Regions from separate parts of the Homo sapiens genome. Here all the other regions are linked to region 2. The links are contacts of gene promoters, found by promoter capture Hi-C in blood cells and fetal thymus (Javierre and others, 2016). All regions are on one chromosome and are shown on one strand. Each heading gives the region's core, a stretch centred on a gene start or on the middle of the fragment in contact. The rest is flanking DNA. Distances are from core to core; before and after follow the strand shown.

What was found. Contacts are between HindIII fragments. The CHiCAGO score rates a contact against its expected background, and 5 or more counts as called.
Region 1: a fragment that was not itself captured here is called in contact with the fragment with the promoter of CMTM5 in region 2 in 1 of 17 cell types (activated CD4 T cells); the score reaches 5.7 in activated CD4 T cells.
Region 3: a contact is called between a fragment that was not itself captured here and the fragment with the promoter of CMTM5 in region 2, in 1 of 17 cell types (megakaryocytes). The highest score is 5.5, in megakaryocytes.

What each region holds. Positions count from the first base shown.
Region 1 is chr14:23,247,846-23,250,545 of GRCh38, forward strand. The region is part of intron 4 of RNF212B (ring finger protein 212B); the gene reads left to right. Among named protein-coding and RNA genes, the nearest start is that of RNF212B, 11 kb to the left of the region's middle. The HindIII fragment of the contact is 696 bases long and covers 1,070-1,765 here.
Region 2 is chr14:23,375,607-23,378,306 of GRCh38, forward strand. CMTM5 (CKLF like MARVEL transmembrane domain containing 5) reads left to right here and starts at 1,440. Exons shown (of 6, transcript NM_001288746.2): 1 at 1,440-1,771. The coding sequence starts at 1,646. It overlaps IL25 (interleukin 25), which reads left to right. Exons shown (of 3, transcript NM_172314.2): 3 at 19-797. The coding sequence ends at 274. The HindIII fragment of the contact is 2,824 bases long and covers 1-2,028 here.
Region 3 is chr14:23,450,001-23,452,700 of GRCh38, forward strand. No RefSeq gene overlaps it. Among named protein-coding and RNA genes, the nearest start is that of MYH7, 16 kb to the left of the region's middle. The HindIII fragment of the contact is 1,862 bases long and covers 335-2,196 here.

The sequences.
Region 1 (2,700 bases), core at 168-2,667, 130 kb before region 2:
CCAGACTGTTTTCCCAAGTGGCTGTACCATTTTACATCCTTAGCAGCTCTTTTAGTCTGTCTGGGCTGCTATAATAAAATACCTTAGACTGGGCAATTTCTAAATAACAGAAATTTAATTTTAACAGTTCTGGAGGCTGGGAAGTTCAACATCAAGGCACTAACAGATTCAGTGTCGGGGGAGGGCTTACTCTTTGCTTCCAAGATAATGCCTTCTTGCTGCATCCTCACATGGCAAAAGTGGCAAACAGGCTCCTTCAAGCCTCTTTTTATTTAGTTTTTTGAGACAGGGTCTCACTCTGTCACAAAGGCTGGAGTGCAGTGGTGTGGTTGTGGCCAGTGGTGCAATCATGGCTCCCTGCAGCCTTGCCCTCTTGAGCTCAGGCGATCCTCTCACCTCACCCTCCCAGGTAGCTGGGACTACAAGCACATGTCACCACACCTGGCTAGTTTTTGTGTTTTTTTTTTTTTAATAGATACAGGGTTTTACCATGTTGCCCAGGTCTCGAACCCCTGGGCTCACGCAATCTGCCCGCCTCAGCCTCCCAAAGTGCTGCAATTACAGGCATGAGCCACCACGCCCAACCCCAAGCCTCTTTTTTTTTTTTTTTTTTTGAGACAGAGTCTTGCTCTGTCGCCCAGACTGGAGTGCAGTGGCACGATCTCGGCTCACTGCAATCTCCGCCTCCCGGGTTCAAGCAATTATCCTGCCTCCACCTCCTGAGTAGCTGGGATTACGGGCATGCGCCACCACACCTGGCTAATTTTTGTATTTTTAATAGAGATGGGGTTTCACCGTGTTGGTCAGGCTAGTCTCGAATTCCTGACCTCGTGATCCGCCCACCTCAGCCTCCCAAAGTGCTGAGATTATGGGCATGAGCCATCACGCCCGGCCCCCAAGCCTCTTTTTATAAGGACACTAATCCCATTCACAAGAGCAAAGCCTTCATGACATAATCACCTCCTAAAGCCTCCATCTCTTAATACTATTGCATTGGGAGTTGAGTGTCAACAAATGAATTTTTGTGGGACACAAATATTCAGACCACAGCAGGCCAGTAAATATTTTAAGCTTTGCAGGCCATACAATTTCCGATGCTGCTACCCAACTCTGCTGTTGTAGCATGGAAGCAGCCATAGACAGCATGTAAGCAGCCACAGACAGCATGTAAGCAAATGTGTGTAATTATGTTCCAATAAAACTTATTTACAAAAACAGACAGCTGGTTATGGTCAGTTGTTTGCTGACCCTTGGTCTATTTTATGGTTTTTAAAAGATTTTTGAAGTCATATGTTTTTACTAATATATACATACATAATTGCTACATATACTGTTGGAATAAAATCAGGTCAAGATTTGATCTCATCAATAGACCAGAGCTTCTCCATCCCTCAGCTGAATTAAGAATTTGAACAACTGAGGTACTCAGTGGGCCAGGCGCAGTGGTTCATACCACTTTGGAGGCCAAGGTGGGAGGATTGCTTGAGGCCAGGGGTTTGAGACTAGCTTGGGCAACATAGTGAAACCCCTTCACTACAAAAAATTTAAAAATTAGCTGGGCATGGTGGCACACACCTGTAGTCCAGCTACTCAGGAGGCTGAGGTGGGAGAATTGCTTGATCCCAAGAGGTTGAGGCTGCAGTGAGCCATGATTGCACCACCATACTCCAGCTTGTGTAAAAATAAAAAATTAAAAAGAGATACTCAATGGTGCTTTTGAAGAAAAGTTGTATTTAGTTTGATATTATTTTACCTAAAAAGGAAAAGCTTTCAGTATTTAGGACTTCTGAAACAGTGTAGTTGAATTCTTCATCACTACTGAGCAGGGGATTGAGGAACCTTAGGCCAGTGTGAGGTAGTATTCCTTTGATCATACAAACTGTGCAACCCAAAACATAACCCTCTGCCTGGTGGGCTGCTGTGGCTCTCATCCAGAGTGGGTACTTCAGACATCTTACTAACAATTCTCCAATTGCTTTTGCTAAGAAAGCATTTTTAGGGTTCTTTTTTCCTCAAATCTGTTCCCTCTGAACCGTCACGATAATCTATTTCAATTACAAATCTGAACAAGTAACTGCCTTTTCAAAATCCTTTGGTGGCTTCCTATCACTTAAGTTTCAGACTGCTCAGAGTGATACATAGTTACCTTAACGTTCTGGTTCCTCCTAACCTCTCCAATTTCAATCACAACTACCATCTCACCTCTCATGTACAAACACAAGTTATTACGTAAGGTTATTTATTACCTAATCTATTAGGCAGATTCAGTTCTTTGCAGTTCTTTTACAGACCATATACTTTCATACCTTTATACCTGAAATGCCTGATTTCTACACTTTAAAAACTAAGTTAGGCCAGCCGTGGTGGCTCACGCCTCTAATCCCAGCACTTTTGGAGGCTGAGGGGGTGGATCACTTGAGGTCAGGGGTTCAAGATCAGCCTGGCCAATATGGTAAAACCCTGTCTCTACTAAAAATACAAAAAATTAGCCAGGTGTCATGGTGGCGCGTGCCTGTAATGCCAGCTGCTTGGGAGGCTGAGGCATGAGAATTGCTTGAACCTGGGAGGCAGAGGTTGCAGTGAGCCTAGAATGTGCCACTGCACTCCAGCCTGGGTGACAGAGCGAGACTCTGTCTCAAAAAAAAAAAAAAAGACTGAATTAATAATTACCTCTTAATCATTATCTCTATATCTTGTAAG
Region 2 (2,700 bases), core at 190-2,689:
CAAGTGCCGCCCCCACAGGTTGGACAGAGACTTGAACCGGCTCCCCCAGGACCTGTACCACGCCCGTTGCCTGTGCCCGCACTGCGTCAGCCTACAGACAGGCTCCCACATGGACCCCCGGGGCAACTCGGAGCTGCTCTACCACAACCAGACTGTCTTCTACCGGCGGCCATGCCATGGCGAGAAGGGCACCCACAAGGGCTACTGCCTGGAGCGCAGGCTGTACCGTGTTTCCTTAGCTTGTGTGTGTGTGCGGCCCCGTGTGATGGGCTAGCCGGACCTGCTGGAGGCTGGTCCCTTTTTGGGAAACCTGGAGCCAGGTGTACAACCACTTGCCATGAAGGGCCAGGATGCCCAGATGCTTGGCCCCTGTGAAGTGCTGTCTGGAGCAGCAGGATCCCGGGACAGGATGGGGGGCTTTGGGGAAAGCCTGCACTTCTGCACATTTTGAAAAGAGCAGCTGCTGCTTAGGGCCGCCGGAAGCTGGTGTCCTGTCATTTTCTCTCAGGAAAGGTTTTCAAAGTTCTGCCCATTTCTGGAGGCCACCACTCCTGTCTCTTCCTCTTTTCCCATCCCCTGCTACCCTGGCCCAGCACAGGCACTTTCTAGATATTTCCCCCTTGCTGGAGAAGAAAGAGCCCCTGGTTTTATTTGTTTGTTTACTCATCACTCAGTGAGCATCTACTTTGGGTGCATTCTAGTGTAGTTACTAGTCTTTTGACATGGATGATTCTGAGGAGGAAGCTGTTATTGAATGTATAGAGATTTATCCAAATAAATATCTTTATTTAAAAATGGCCTAATCTGTATTTGGCATCCGTGGTGCCTGAACATCTCGCGGTCTCCCAGCCTGTCCCTTCTCCTTTCCACCATTGGCCCTCACCTCTGTCCACCCTGCCAGCTCTCTCCGCCCTCCAGAGTTTCCGCTGCACCCTCCCGTCCTCTCCCATCTCTGTCTCCCTGGCCCATCCCAAACACCAGGGTGGGGGCTAGGCCGCGCTCCCGGCATGCTGGAGAGACAGAGGCCCATTGAGGCATTGCAGCAGGCACAGAGCGCCCCCTTGTCCCCCAACAATCCGCCTTTGTCCTCCAGTCCTGGCTGCTGCAGCTTGGTCCTGGGGGTGCTGCCTGGGCTGGGCTCCAGCTCACACCCTCCCTAAAAGGAAATGGGAGAAAGGACCGGCCAAACAAGAGGGTTAAGGTTAGAGAAGGGGGACACAAATGTCTTCAGGCTTAGGTCCCTGGGGGCTCCCAGTCCTGCCCCTGTTCCTCTACTCACATCCCAGCTCCTCCCAGTTTCTTTTCGGACCTCCTCCTCTCCCCTTCCTTCTCTATTCCAGGCTGGGTTGGGCTCTAAGCAAGGGGAGGGATTAGAGCCTCCTTCCTCTCTGCCCCTCCCCATGGGTCTCTAGGGGGCTGGTGCAGGCAGCAGCAGAGGCACTCTGGGCAGCTGGGTGAGGGCCCATCTGGGCAAGGCCCCCAGCGCCTGCCTTCTCTCCCGGGGCCCTGTGGGCAAGCCTCCTGCTTCACTTTCAGGTTTCTCGAAGTGCCTTCTTGCTCCTGTCTGTTTCCCCATCCTGCCAGATTTCTGTTTCTCTTGCTGGGCTTTTGGCAGTAGGGGGCTGTGTTGGTGGGCCCTACGAAGATGCTCAGTGCTCGAGATCGCCGGGACCGGCACCCTGAGGAGGGGGTAGTTGCAGAGCTCCAGGGCTTCGCGGTGGACAAGGCCTTCCTCACCTCCCACAAGGGCATCCTGCTGGAAACCGAGCTGGTAACAGCTGCCTCCCAACCTGGTGCCTCCATCTCCCTGACCCCCGGCTCCTGGCCAGCCTTATGCCAGCCCCCAGCTCACCCTTCAGTAGCCTCCTTCCCCAAGCCCTCTGGACACCTCTCCTGCCCGCAGCTGCCCCTTCTTCGTCTCCTACTCTGCCTTCTTGCTGCCTCTCCACCCGGAGACATTTACAGCAGGTTTCAGTTGCAGCAGGAAGGACTGCAGTTAGACAGGGTGACTTTTTGGGACATTGAGGAAGCTTGAGACATAGGGATGGGACAGGGGCAATGACAGCCTCTAACATGGCCACTTCTCAGCACGTCCAAGAAGTCTAACTATCAAAAAGGGCAGACTTCCTGCAACTGCACTTTATCTGTGGTCTGCTGCCCAGAAACATCTCTTCTCAGGAAAGGATCTTCCCCTGGTTACTTAGCAAGACCACAGTGTAGAGTTAAGGCCTCTGCACGTATGCCACCCTAGGTCATCAGAGCTAAAGGGGCTCCCAGAAACCACTGGGCAGCATCTGCCTTCTCTCTTGGCATGGAATCAAAGGCTCTGGTCCTTGTCAGGGGGCTTTCAGGCATCTGGGGGTGGGGAAAGCATTATGAGGCAGGGGGCTCCTCTTGGTCCCTGTGGAGTCGGGTCTCTGTGGGCACAACTCCAGGGGCTGGCATTCACACTGTACCTATGAATTACTGTGGGATAGTGCTCCTGGGAGCCATATGGCTTGGCCAGACTGCTGGGGTTGCTGGGTGAGCAGAGTGGGAGGCCGGAGACTGCCCTTGACCGGCAAATGCCCTGCAACGGTGGCTCCTGACACCAGGGGATAGGGAGATGTGCCAGAGTCCTTCCTCCCCTCCAAGGACAGGTAGTAGGTGCCAGCCTAGGGGAGCTTCCAAGGAGGGGAAGGCAAAGCCCTGGCCCCTGCC
Region 3 (2,700 bases), core at 16-2,515, 74 kb after region 2:
GGTTTAGCTCCATCCCCTTGGTGCTGTCCTCACCATAGTGTGTGTGTTCTCTCAAGATCTGATTGTTTAAAAGCGTGTGGCACCCTCTCCCTGTCTTGCTCCCGCTCTTGCCATATGACATGCCTTCTCCTGCTTTGCCTTCTGCCATGAGTAAAAGTTCCTTGAGGCCTTCCCTGAAGCTGAGCAGATACTGTAAAGCCTGCAGAACTGTGAGGCAATTAAACCTCTTTTCTTCGTAAATTACCCAGTCTCAGGTACTTCTTCATAGCAATGCAAGAATGGCATAATACATACAGAGATTCTCAAACTTGTTCATGCTGCAGAATCACACAGAAGCTTTGTTAGGACACATTTTCTTGGCTGGGTGCAGTGGCTCATGCTTGTAATCCCAGGACTTTGGGAGGCAGATCATTTGAGGTCAGGAGTTTGAGACCAGCCTGATCAACATGATGAAACCCCATCTGTATGAAAAATACAAAACAATTAGCTGGTGTGGTGGTGCATGCCTATAATCCCAGCTACCTGGGAGCCTGAAGCAGGAGAATCACTTGGGCCTGGGAGGTGGAGACTGCAGTAAGCCGAGATTGCATCACTGCACTCCAGCCTGGGATGCCTGAATTTGCATACCAGATGCTACTGGATTGAGGACCACACATTGAGAACCACTGAATTAATGCATGTAAAGTGCTCAGAATAGTGCCTGGCATGTAGTAAATGCCCAATAAATGGAGCTACGGAGCTATTCATTTGCTATTTCTGAGTAAAAATATTAACATTTACTTGTTTGATATTTAGATTGTTTATAGTTTTAAATAACATTGTTATTGAGATATAATTCATGTGCCATAACATTTACCATTTTACAATATACGATTCAGTAGTTTTTAGTATATTCAGAGTTGTGCAAGCATCACCACTATCAAATTTTAGAACATTTTCATCACCCCCAAAAGAAATACCATACCTATTAGCAGTTACTCCTCTTTCCCACTGACTCCCTGTTTGTAGTTTTTTTGAACTTATAAATAAAGTATCTCTAAACATAAGTACACATGGCTTCTTTTTATTTTGAATGATTTCAATAGAACAAATTCTAGGAGACGAATTCCTTAGTCAAAAATTATGAATATGTTTACATATAGCCACTCTTTGAAAGCATTAATTTACAATCATTGTGGCTTTTTTTCCTGCTGTTGCTTTTCATTGTTAGCATATTGCTTATTCTTACACCGCTTCAGTTTCCTTAAGTTGATGGCACCAGAATATGAGGTCCTTGGGGTTGAGAACTGTAATATTTTCATCTTTGTGTCCCCTAGGGCTACACTACTGAGTGTGGTAGTCACTAGCCAAACATGGCTGTTGGGTACTTGAAATGTGTCTAGTGCAACTGAGACACTGAATTTTTCATTTAGTTAAAATTTAAAATGAAGGGAGATCAATTTATTTTCAACAAAGATTCCAAAACAATTCTTTGAGGAAATGGTGCTGGATACACACATGCAAAAAGATACATTTAGACCACACCCCACACTATACACAAAAATAACTTAAAACAGTTCAGAGACTTACATGTAAGATCTAAAACTTACAATTTTTGGAAGAAAACGTAGGAAAAGTCTTTGGTTAGGAAACAAGTTCTTACATACAATACCAAAAGCATAATCCACAAAAGACAAAATTGTAAGTTGGACTTCATCAAAGTTGAAAGATTTTGTGCTTCAAAAGATGTCATTAAGAAGATTAAAATTTTAAAAAGAAAATTAAAATCTAAGCCACAGACTGGAAGAAAATACTTGCAAATCATATTTCTAATAAAGGACTTGTGTTAAGAATAGATAAAGAACAAGTACAACTCAATAATAATACAAGAAAATTTTAAAATAGTCAAAAGATTTATAGACTTAAAGTCAGCTAATTAGCAAGGTTAAAGAAAGAAAAGATTTATAGATATTTCAACAAAGATATGCAAATGTATAACAAGCACACAAAATATGCTCAACATCATCAATCATTATAGAAATTCTAATTAAAACCTCAATGAGATAGCACTTCATACCCATGAGTGTGACTATAATAAAAAAGAAAGGCAATAATAAATTGTGGCTAGGATGTGGAGAAACCAAAACTCTCCAACATTGCTGGTGAGAACGTAAAATGCAACAGCTACTTTGGAAAACAGTTTGAACTTTTCTTAAAAGCTTAACTGACATACATGTACCAAATAACTCAGCCATCCACTTTTGGGTATTTACTCAATAGAAAAGAAAGTATATATCCACACAAAGACTTATATAAACAAGTTCAAACAAGCGTTTGTTCATAAACGCTTGGATATTATTCATAATATCCAAAAAGTGGAAATAATCCCAATGTTTATCATTAGGTGAACAGATAAACAAAATGTGGTACATCCATACAATGGAATATTATTCAGCAATAAAAAGGAATGAGTACTGATACATGTTATTAATGTAACATGGATTAACCTCAAAAACATGCTAAATGAAAGAATCCAGATGAAAAGGCCACATATTTTATGATTCCATTTCTATGAAATGTCCAGAAAAGGAAAATCTATGAAGACAGAAGGCAGTGGCTGCCTGAAGCTGGTGGTGGAAATGGCAATGGACTGCAAATGGGTGTAAGGGATCCCTTTGGAGCATTGGGAATGCTCTAAATTGGATTGTGGTGATGCTTGCA